Regions from separate parts of the Homo sapiens genome. Here region 2 is linked to region 1. The links are contacts of gene promoters, found by promoter capture Hi-C in human tissues and cell types (Jung and others, 2019). All regions are on one chromosome and are shown on one strand. Each heading gives the region's core, a stretch centred on a gene start or on the middle of the fragment in contact. The rest is flanking DNA. Distances are from core to core; before and after follow the strand shown.

Evidence for each region. The method cuts DNA at HindIII sites, captures the fragments that hold promoters and counts their contacts. A contact is called where the count stands out against the background at its distance.
Region 2: the fragment with the promoter of CALML6 here is called in contact with the fragment with the promoter of ISG15 in region 1 in 1 of the 25 tissues and cell types used here (H1 embryonic stem cells).

What each region holds. Positions count from the first base shown.
Region 1 is chr1:1,009,810-1,015,131 of GRCh38, forward strand. ISG15 (ISG15 ubiquitin like modifier) reads left to right here and starts at 3,688. Exons shown (of 2, transcript NM_005101.4): 1 at 3,688-3,767; 2 at 4,175-4,731. The coding sequence starts at 3,765. The coding sequence ends at 4,669. RefSeq lists enhancers at 3,351-3,770, 3,658-4,549, 4,171-4,580, 4,550-5,322, 4,741-4,800 and 1 more. The HindIII fragment of the contact is 22,753 bases long and covers 1-5,322 here.
Region 2 is chr1:1,912,326-1,917,727 of GRCh38, forward strand. CALML6 (calmodulin like 6) reads left to right here and starts at 2,935. Exons shown (of 6, transcript NM_138705.4): 1 at 2,935-2,982; 2 at 3,360-3,410; 3 at 4,116-4,290; 4 at 4,427-4,571; 5 at 4,649-4,749; 6 at 4,822-4,971. The coding sequence starts at 2,956. The coding sequence ends at 4,868. TMEM52 (transmembrane protein 52) reads right to left here. Exons shown (of 5, transcript NM_178545.4): 5 at 5,266-5,402. RefSeq lists an enhancer at 1,756-2,442. The HindIII fragment of the contact is 17,409 bases long and covers 1-5,402 here.

The sequences.
Region 1 (5,322 bases), core at 2,438-4,937:
GGTCTCGCTCTGTCACCCAGGCTGGAGTGCAGTGGTGCGATCACAGCTCACTGCAGCCTCCACCTCCCGGGTTCAAGCTATCCTCCCACCTCAGCCTCCAAAGTAGCCAGGACTACAGGTGTGCGCCACCACGCCCGGCCAATTTTTTTATGTATTGCAGGGACAGGGTTTCACCATGTTGCCCAGGCTGGTCTCAAACTCCTGGGCTCAAGCCATCTGCCTGCCTCGGCCTCCCAAAGTCCTGGGACTGTGGTGTTTGTTTGTTTGAGACAGGGTCTTGTTCTCGTCGCCCAGGCTGGAGGGCAGTGGCGCGATCTCAGCTCACTGCAACCTCCACCTCCAGGGCTCAAGCAATTCTCCTGCCTCAGCCTCTCGAGTAGCTGGGACTACAGGTGTGAGCCACCACACCCAGCTAATTTTTGCATTTTTAGTAGAGATGGGGTTTCACCATGTTGGCTAGGCTGGTCTTGAACTCCTGACCTCAAGTGATTTGCCCGCCTCGTCCTCCCAAAGCGCTGGGATCACAGGCGTGAGCCGCCACCCCGCCTCCTCTTTGGTTTTCAGATGCTGACAATTTTGGTGACCCCTGAGATTTGCTGGGAGACGGGGAAGGGCCAGGATTCATATTCAGAATATGTTGATTTTTCACTCTTACACTTGTTTATTTAAAAATTATTTATTTATTTATTTGAATCTTATTTAAATATTTTATTTATTTGTTTATTACTGAGTCTTAGCTATCCTTCTCTTGTTATGTGCTGTGTGTAACAACAACAATTTGGGAACAGCCTAAGTATTCAGTGATGTGGGATGGGTTTTAACTAAATTAACTCTGTACTGTAACAGGCTCATTCTTCCATGGGAAACATGCAGTTGTTAAAACAACCTGCACAGATGCGTCCACCAACACGGATAGATGCGTGTTTTTGTTTTTTGGGTTTTTTTTTTTTTTTTTTGAGACAGGGTCTCGCTCTCTCACCCAGGCTGGAGTGCAGTGAAGCGATCTCGGCTCACTGCAGCCTCCGCCTCCCAGGCTCAAGTGATTCTCCTGCCTCAGCCTCCCAAGTATCTGGGATTACAGGTGCCCACCACCACGCCCAGCTAATTTTTGTATTTTTAGTAGAGATGGGGTTTCACCATGTTGGCCAGGCTGGTCTCAAACTGCTGACCTCAGGTGATCTACCCGCCTCGGTCTCTCAAAGTGCTGGGATTACAGGTGAGCCACTGCGCCCGGCCCATGCCCAGCTAATTTTTCGCATTTTTAGTAGGGACGGAGTTTCACCATATTGGCCAGGCTGGTCTTGAACTCCTGACCTCAGGTGATCTGCCTGCCTCGGCCTCCCAAAGTGCTGGGATTACAGGCGTGAGCCCCTGTACCTGGCCTTTTTTGTTGTTGTTGTATTTTTAGTAGAGATGGGGTTTCGCCATGTAGGTCAGGCTGGTCTCGAACTCCTGATCTCAAATGATCCTCCCGCCTCAGCCTCCCGAAATGCCGGCATTACAGGCATGAGCCGCCTGGCCTGGATAGATGTTTATGATACACTGTTGCATGAATGAAGCAGGTTACAAAACAGTGAAAGTATGGTGAGGCCTTTTCACCTTTGCTTTTTATTGATGTGAAATTCATATAACATAAAACTAACCATTTTAAAGAATGAAATCCAGTGGCGTTTAGTTATTTACCACGTTGTCCAACCATCACCTCTGTGGAGTTCTGAAACATTGTCACCCCCAAAGGGGCTTGTGGCTCTGAAGCAATCACCCCCCACTCCCCCTCCCTGGCCCCCGGTAACGGGGTCGGCTTCCTGTGCTGCGGCTCTACCAGTTCCGGTCGTTTCCCCTGCGGTGAATGGAACCAACACTCTGCGGCCTTCGTGTCTGGCTCTTTCCACTTAGCATAACGTTTTCAAGGTTCTTTCACATGAATCAGTGCCTCAGTCCTTTTCATGGCTGCATAATATTCCGTTGTGTGGACATTCCACACTTTGTGTGTCCATCCATCACTGATGGACATGTGCTCCGTTCCTGCTACTTGTTTATTGTAAACTGTGCTGCCATGGACATTTGTATGCAAGTATTTGAACACCTATTTTCAATTCTTTTGGACACATGCCTAGAAGTGGAACTGCTGGGTTCCCAATAATTCTGTTGAACGTTTTGAGCATCGCGGCGGCCGCACTGTTTTACATTCTCAACAGCAATGCATGTACCAGGATTCCAGTTCCTCTATGTATTCCCCAGTGCTTGTTACTGCCTTTATGTTTATTTTATATTATTTTTTGAGACTGTCTTGCTCTGCTGCCCAGGCTGGAGTGCATTGGTGCAATCTTGGCTCACCACAATCTCTGCCTCCTGGGTTCAAGGGATTCTCCCGCCTCAGCCTCCCAAGTAGCTGGGATTACAGGCGTGCACCACCACGCCCAGCTAATTTTTGTATTTTTAGTAGAGATGGGGTTTCTACTAAAAATGTTGGCCAGGCTGGTCTCAAACTCCTGACCTTAGGTGATCCGCCCGCCTCAGCCTCCCAAAGTGTTGGGATTGCAGGCGTGAGCCACCGCACCCGGCCTGGCCTTTATTTTTATTATTACAGTCATACCAGCAGGAAATAGCATCTCACTGGGGTTTTGATTTGCATTTCCCCAATTAATAATGATGTTGAACATCACTTTACAGCCGTTTCTATGTCATTGGAGAAATGTCTATTGAAGTCTTTTGGCCATTTGAAAATTGAGTTGCCTTTTTTTTTTATTTTTATTTTTTATTGAGTTGTAAGAGTTCTCTATATGTCCTGGATGCTATGCCCTCATCAGATAGATAATTTGCAAATATTTCTTCCCATTCTATGGATTGTCTTTTCACTTTCTCAATAGTGTCCCAGAGTTCATTTTTGTAGAAAATAAAAGATAGGTCTCTTTTATTAAAAAACAATCTGAGGCTCCGGGTGCAGTGGCTCACGCCTGTAATCCCAGCAGTTTCAGAGGCCGAGGCAGGTGGATCACTTGAGCCCAGGAGTTCGAGATCAGCCTGGGCGACATGGCGAGACCCCCATCTCTACTAAAAATACAAAAAATTAGCCGGGCCTGGTGGTGCACCCCTGTGGTCCCAGCTACGTGGGAGGCTGAGGTGAGAGGATCGCTTTAGCCTGGCAGGCGGAGGTTGCAATGAGATGAGATCGTGCCTCTGCACTCCAGCCTGGGCGACAGAGTGAGAGACCCTGTCTCAAAAACACAAAAACAACAACAAAAAAACACCAATCTGAGCAAATACTGCCCTAAACCGAGTGTTGTTATCTCTGGGTAGTTTGGAGTTCTTGTTTCTCAATTAACCATGGGGATGTTTTCCAAGTTTACTAATTTTGCAAGTTGGTAAATGGAAAATGAAACCATTAGTCCATGTGATGACAGCTTTAGTGCATCCTGTGAAGGATCTGGAATGCGCGATATTTAGGTGTTTCCAGGGTGTTGGGTGGGGGTGGGGATGCCGTCCGCTGTCCGGAGTCCCCGCCACTTTTGCTTTTCCCTGTCTTTCGGTCATTCGGTTTTGTTTCTTCCGCTCACTCTGGGGCATGCCTCGGGAAAGGGAAACCGAAACTGAAGCCAAATTTGGCCACCAGCGCAGGCTCGGCGGCACGCCCCCTGACGTGTGTGCCTCAGGCTTATAATAGGGCCGGTGCTGCCTGCCGAAGCCGGCGGCTGAGAGGCAGCGAACTCATCTTTGCCAGTACAGGAGCTTGTGCCGTGGCCCACAGCCCACAGCCCACAGCCATGGTAAGGCAGATGTCACAGGTGGGGGGAGGTGGGCTCTGTGCCAGCCAATTTTCGTCTCCCTCCCCCAGCCAAGGTCTCCCAGGGGTGCAGGGAGAGCGGAGCTGCTCAGAGCTTGGCCAGGTTCTAAGTGTGCTCCTGAAAGCAGGTCACCCCTGAGATCCTCAGGGTGGGGCACAGAGGGGCACCCTAGCAGGTAAAGGGAGGCCACGGGATGGCGGTGGGCAGCTGGCCTTCTAGTAACGAGCCCTCAGTGCCTTCTGTGCCTGGGGTCCCTGCCGGCGGGATGTAGAGGACAGACAGGAGGGAGCACTGTCCCTGGGTACAGGAGCTCGCCCTGCAGCCAGTGCCTTGTGTGTGGTGGGCCTGGGGCTGGCGCCGCAGTCTCTGAACCTGTGTGACGCCTGCAGGGCTGGGACCTGACGGTGAAGATGCTGGCGGGCAACGAATTCCAGGTGTCCCTGAGCAGCTCCATGTCGGTGTCAGAGCTGAAGGCGCAGATCACCCAGAAGATCGGCGTGCACGCCTTCCAGCAGCGTCTGGCTGTCCACCCGAGCGGTGTGGCGCTGCAGGACAGGGTCCCCCTTGCCAGCCAGGGCCTGGGCCCCGGCAGCACGGTCCTGCTGGTGGTGGACAAATGCGACGAACCTCTGAGCATCCTGGTGAGGAATAACAAGGGCCGCAGCAGCACCTACGAGGTACGGCTGACGCAGACCGTGGCCCACCTGAAGCAGCAAGTGAGCGGGCTGGAGGGTGTGCAGGACGACCTGTTCTGGCTGACCTTCGAGGGGAAGCCCCTGGAGGACCAGCTCCCGCTGGGGGAGTACGGCCTCAAGCCCCTGAGCACCGTGTTCATGAATCTGCGCCTGCGGGGAGGCGGCACAGAGCCTGGCGGGCGGAGCTAAGGGCCTCCACCAGCATCCGAGCAGGATCAAGGGCCGGAAATAAAGGCTGTTGTAAAGAGAAATGGCCGCCTCTGTGTCTGTGCTTGCCCCTCCTCCAGCGTCCGCCTCAGACCCCTGGTGATGGGGCGGGAGAAGTCAGGAGGGAGAACCCAGGGTCCATCCTGGTGACCAGGCCTGGGCTGCCAAGTGAAGGGATAAGGGTTTGCAGTTACAGCTTCGAGGGATCAAAATAGGGAGCCCCCCACCCCGAAACTGAAGTAAGACAGCTCTCCCCACCCTTTGGGAAATTAACTTCTAGGAAAAGAAAAAGAGACACAGTTGCTGGAGCCCATCCTGCCTGTCCTCCATCTGGGACAGCAGACGGCTTAGGCAGGGACCCGCCTGATCAGATCAAAAGGGGAGGCTCCCAGTGGGCCCCTGGGAGCAGTAAGGGGTGAGTCCTTGGGGCCTGCCCGGTGGGCTGTGAGGCAGGCTCTCCATAGGAACTGGGGGCTGGGGACCTCAGCCGTCCCTAGCCCAGCCTACACAGCCTGCTCCACCTGCCTGGGCTGGGCTAGGGAGGGGTAGAGACAGGTCCTGAGCACTCACATCACCACTGGGGCCAGCTGCAGAAGACAGCCTGGGTGGCTAAGTACACCCCCTCAAGGCTGTGC
Region 2 (5,402 bases), core at 1,685-4,184, 900 kb after region 1:
TATTTTTATTTTTAGTAGAGACGGCATTTCACCATGTTAGCCAGGATGGTCTCGATCTCCTGACCTTGTGATCTCCCTGCCTCGGTCCCCCAAAGTGCTGGGATTACAGGCATGAGCCACCATGCCCGGCCTACTGATTTAAATACTAATCACATCTATGAAACACCTTCATGCCCGCCCATATTCATTGCAGCAGCAGTTCCAACAGCCAAGAGGTGGGAGCACCTAAGTGTTCATCAGCAGATGGTGGATAAACCGAGTGTGGTCCATCCCGAGAATAACATTTTACTCAGCCTTAAAAAAGACGCCTATTCCAGGCCGAGTGCGGTGGCTCATGCCTGTAATCTCAGCACTTTGTGAGGCCCAGGTGGGCGGATCACAAGGTAAGGAGATCGAGACGATCCTGGCTAACACGGTGAAACCCCGTCTCTAGTAAAAGTATAAAAAATTAGCCGGACTTGGTGGTGGGTGCCTGTAGTCCCAGCTACTCGGGAGGCTGAGGCAAGAGAATTGCTTGACCTGGGAGGCAGAGGTTGCAGTGAGCTGAGATCGCGCCACTGCACTCCAGCCTGGAGATAGAGCGGGACTCTGCCTCAAAAAAAAAAAAAAAAAAAAAGTCGAATTCTTTTTTTTTTTTTTGGAGATGGAGTCTCACTCTGTCACCCGGGCTGGGGTGCAGTGGCGCAATCTCGGCTCACTGCATCCTCCACCTCCCAGGTTCAAGCAATTCTCTGCCTCAGCCTCCTGAGTAGCTGGGATTACAGGCACCTGCCACCACGCCCGGCTAATTTTTTTATTTTTTTATTTTTTTTAGTAGAAACAGGGTGTAACCATCTTGGCCAGGCTGGTCTTGAACTCCTGACCTTGTGATCCACCCACCTCGGCCTCCCAAAGTGCTGGGATTACAGGCGTGAGCCACCACACCCGGCCCCCGGAGTCGAATTCTTAAAAACAGAAAGTAGAATAGTGATTGCCATAGGCTGGGGGGCGGGGGGTGGTGGAAGAGGGCAGATGCTGTTTAATGGGGGCGGGGGTCCGTTTTGCAAGGTGAAAGGTTCTAGAGATCTGCTGCATAACTGGGTACGGCCATGAACACAACTGCACTTGCACCTGAACGTGGCTGAGGCAGCATTCTAATTGTTACAGGGTTTTTCTCTTTTTCTGTTTTCTTTTCTTTTCTTTTTTTTTTTTGAGATGGAGTCTCGCTCTGTTGCCCAGGCTGGAGTGCAGTGGCGCGATCTCGCCTCACTGCAAGGTCTGCCTCCTGGGTTCACGCCATTCTCCTGCCTCAGCCTCCGGAGAAGCTGGGACTACAGGTGTCTACCACCACGCCTGGCTAATTTTTTTGTATTTTTTTTAGTACAGTCGGGGTTTCACTGTGTTAGCCAGGATGGTCTCGATCTCCTGACCTCGTGATCTGCCCGCCTCAGCCTCCCAAAGTGCTGGGATTACAGGCGTGAGCCACCGTGCCCAGCCTCTTTTTCTGTTTTCTTATGGAGAATAGCCCTTCGGTGATCAGAAGAGACACAAGAAGGAAAATAAAGATTGGATGAGTCTCAGGTCCTAGAGATACGGGGTATGTCCGAAGGCCACACAGAGGCTGGTCAGCATGAGGAGAGAGGGTTAGAGGGCGAGGACCTGTTCTGCTGCTTGTACTGGGTCTTGGATATGGGTAGAAGCCTAGATGGAGAGGAGAGAGGTTGATGGTGGTTGTGGCCATGTTGCCCCTTCCTACGGGCGGGGCGGGGGGTGTGCCCTCTGCTTTAAGTTGGGCTCCAGGGGTCACAGCTTTGAGTTTCACTCGTAAGCCCATCAGGATGTCTGGAACCTTCAGGGCTGTGGCCCAGGAATGTCAGACGCTGGAAGCCTGGGAACGGAGGAGGCAGAGCCTGCTGTCCACTGGCTGTGAGAGTTGTTGGGGTGGGGACTTGTCCAGGGCCACGAGGCCAGTGCAGTTCTCTGTGTCTCTGTACCCAGCTGGCCTGTACCTGGAGACCCTGAGCCAGAACCCAGGATGGGCCCTGGCCTGGGTGCTGCGGCTCCCTCCATTCTATGCCCCTGGGGGAAGGTGCTCAGTGCGTGAATTGTTCCCTGCCCCAGCCCAGGGGAAAGCTGAGGCCAGGGAGCAGCCAGGATGAAGGTCAGGGCCTCCCTTGGCCCCACCAGACCCAGGGCCGCTTCCCTCCAGCCCCGGCTCCCGTTTGGCTGGAGGTGCCCTGGGCCATTGGCCTGCCCTCGTCAGCGTCAATCTTGCAGTCTCAGCAGCTGGCCTGGGTTTCAGCGGGAGCCATCCTGTAGCTGCAGGTTTGCTGGCAGGCAGAGGGTTGGGCTGGCGGGGGACACTGAGTGCCCCACCTGCTCAGACTCTTCATGCCATCAAGGGGCCAGTCGGGGGGCAGGTGTGAGTGTGACCCTGAGGGCCCTGACCTGCCACTGCAATCCTCACACTCTTGCCTGGGTGGGGCAGGGAGGAGCTGGACCCTGGCTTTGGGAGTCTGGTGGGTAATTAGACCCAGACAGGGAGGGCTCAGTGCGGGTCTGAGGAGGGAACACACGTGTGCAGGCGTGTGCTCCACGGTGGCATGTTGATACGGACCAGCCTGGGCACCAGGCCCCCTCGGGAGCCAGCTTTGCTGTTCTGAGTGGAAGGGAGATCAGGTTTCCCTGAGAAACCCCAAAATAGCCCCCAACTGTGCCTGGCTTCCAGCGGGCAGCCCAGCCCCCAGGCCCTGTTTTGCTCCCTTTCCCCCTTCACCCCCAGCCCATGTCCTGCTGTCTCCTCCCTGAATGGTGGACCCTCAGCCCCTCCTGTACAAGATGGTCAAGCGGTGCCTCATGCATTTGTTCATTCGACCTGTCCTGAGAGTTTGTGACATGCTGGCACGGGGCCAATGTTGAGTCCACCAGGATGGGAGGGTGGCCAGGCTCTGAGCCACTGAGCACCAGCTGGCCAGGATGGGTCTTCAACAAGAAATCTCACTGGTAAGTGATGACAGCATGGGACCAGGGTCCCATGAAGACCTGCTGGAGGGCCGCACCTCTGGGAAGGTAGACTTGGAGCTTGGTCCAGTGAAGAGGGAACAGCACGGGGAACAGCGTGTGTGAGGGTCCCGCCATGTCTCAGCCCTTTCCTGGCCCCCGCACTTAGCCTTCGGTGCCCATCTTCAGGGTCAGGGGAAGCCCAGGCCAAAGCGGGCCGGGAAGGGGCCCTGTGGATAAGGCCGAGAGCCTGTCCCAAAATAGGGCCGGCAGGATTTCCCACCCATAAAAGGCTCTTGGAATCTGGACCCCGGGGACCCCAGGCAGCCAGGCCCAGCTAAAACTCAGCTGCCACCACTGCCCCAGCACTCTGCCCACAGCAGCCCTGGTGTCACCACCCTGCAGAATCCTGTCAGACAACCACCGACATGGTAAGGCTGCTCTCTGTGCCCGATGGAGTCTCTGGTGGGCTGGCTGGGTAGGTTGAGCTGGAACCTGGAGGTGCAATGACCTGCCACGGAGCCTGGGCAGGAAGGGGCTGAGGTAGAAGAGGGGGCCAAGCCCTGCTGCCACCAACACAGCCCTTGTTCCGGGGCCAGGGTGGAGCAGCCCTTTCTGAAAGCTGGCTCCCAGATGGGCAGCAGCAGTGGTGGCAGGCAGGTGTGGCCCGGTGCTGGACTCTCCCTCCGGAATGCCACACAGGCTGGAGCCCAGGGTTCTGCTTCCTGGGCTGTATCCCAATCCTGGGCTGGAAGCCTTTCCCGGGCCAGGGCTGGGCTCCTCCCCACCCTGCTCTCGGCTTCCTTCACCTGCCTCACCTGGTGTCCATTGCCAGGCTCCAGGGCCGCTGCCTGGCCCGCCTGGCCCTGCAGCTGCTGCTGTTCCCTCGCACGCTGGCTCCTGCCTGTCTGGCCCTTGCCCCTGTTAGCTGCCTGGCAGAGCCCTGCTGGCCCTGCAAACCCCTGGCGTGTGACCCCTTGTCCTGGAAGCCTGCTCTCCGCTGGGGGCCTCCTCTCTTACCACTCACCTTGAAAGGCTGCCAATGGAGGAATGGGTGCAGGGGGTACCTCTGACCCTTCCCTGGACACAGGGGCAGAAGGGGCTCCTGGTCAGGCCGGTGCGGGTGTCCCCTGCAGACAGAGCGCCTGTCGGCTGAGCAGATCAAGGAGTACAAGGGAGTCTTTGAGATGTTCGACGAAGAGGGCAACGGGGAGGTGAAGACGGGGGAGCTGGAGTGGCTCATGAGCCTGCTGGGTATCAACCCCACCAAGAGTGAGCTGGCCTCAATGGCCAAGGATGTGGACAGAGACAGTGAGCTCATGGCTGGAGTGGGGTGGGCAGCCTCGGGGGGGCCCTGGGTCAGGTGTCAGTGCCTACGGGGGGAAGAGGCAAAGCCCATGGGGAGTGCTGTGCCCCATCCCTTGAGCCCCAGCTGTGCCCCTTGCAGACAAAGGGTTCTTCAACTGCGATGGTTTCCTGGCACTAATGGGAGTTTACCATGAGAAGGCCCAGAACCAGGAGAGCGAGCTGAGGGCGGCATTCCGTGTCTTTGACAAAGAGGGCAAGGGCTACATTGACTGGAACACACTCAAGTAGGGCCCGGGTTGGGGGCGGGTGGTGGGCGGGCACGGGCAGGGCCGATGGAGTGGCTCAGCGCCAGGCCCCGTAGGTACGTGCTAATGAACGCAGGGGAGCCCCTCAACGAGGTGGAGGCGGAGCAGATGATGAAGGAGGCCGACAAGGATGGGGACAGGACCATCGACTATGAGGGTGAGTGGCCTGGAGCCCTGGGAGCCGTTGGCTGGGCCGGGGCAAGCTGCTGACCTGCCCCTCTGTTCCCAGAGTTTGTGGCCATGATGACGGGGGAGTCCTTCAAGCTGATCCAGTAGGTGCAGCTGCCGCAGCCGGGGGAGGCCTGCCCGGGAAGGCTGCTGCCCCTGCCCCCTGGCCCCCACTCCCCCGGCTCCGTGTAAAATAAATGTTCCAGCCCAACCTGTGTGTGCCTCACTGTCCCAGCCTGGGTTGGGGGGCAACAGGCAAAGGCGTGGGGCTGGAGAAGGAAAAGAGTTTTCCTGGCCCAGTCACAGAAACAGCCCCAGTCATTTCTGCCACGACACCTGACACCACCCATTGCCCAGCTCAGGGCTAGGAATGCCAGCCTGAAACCTGGACTGGGTACAGGCCGGGGACCACACGCTCGCCCTTCCTGCTTGCACTGGGGGTTGGCTGCCCAAGGGTTCCTCCCAGAGCCCTGGAGTCCCAGAGTCCTTCCCACATAGGCAGAGACCACTTAAATACAAACTTTATTCTCTCTCCAAGAAGATGCAGACGTCACAGGTGGCCCTGAGCTCCCACCCGAGGCTTAGGCCCAAGGGGCCTCTTCCAGGCTGAGGGCCTGCTGGGGCTGGGCCAGGGGCTGAGGC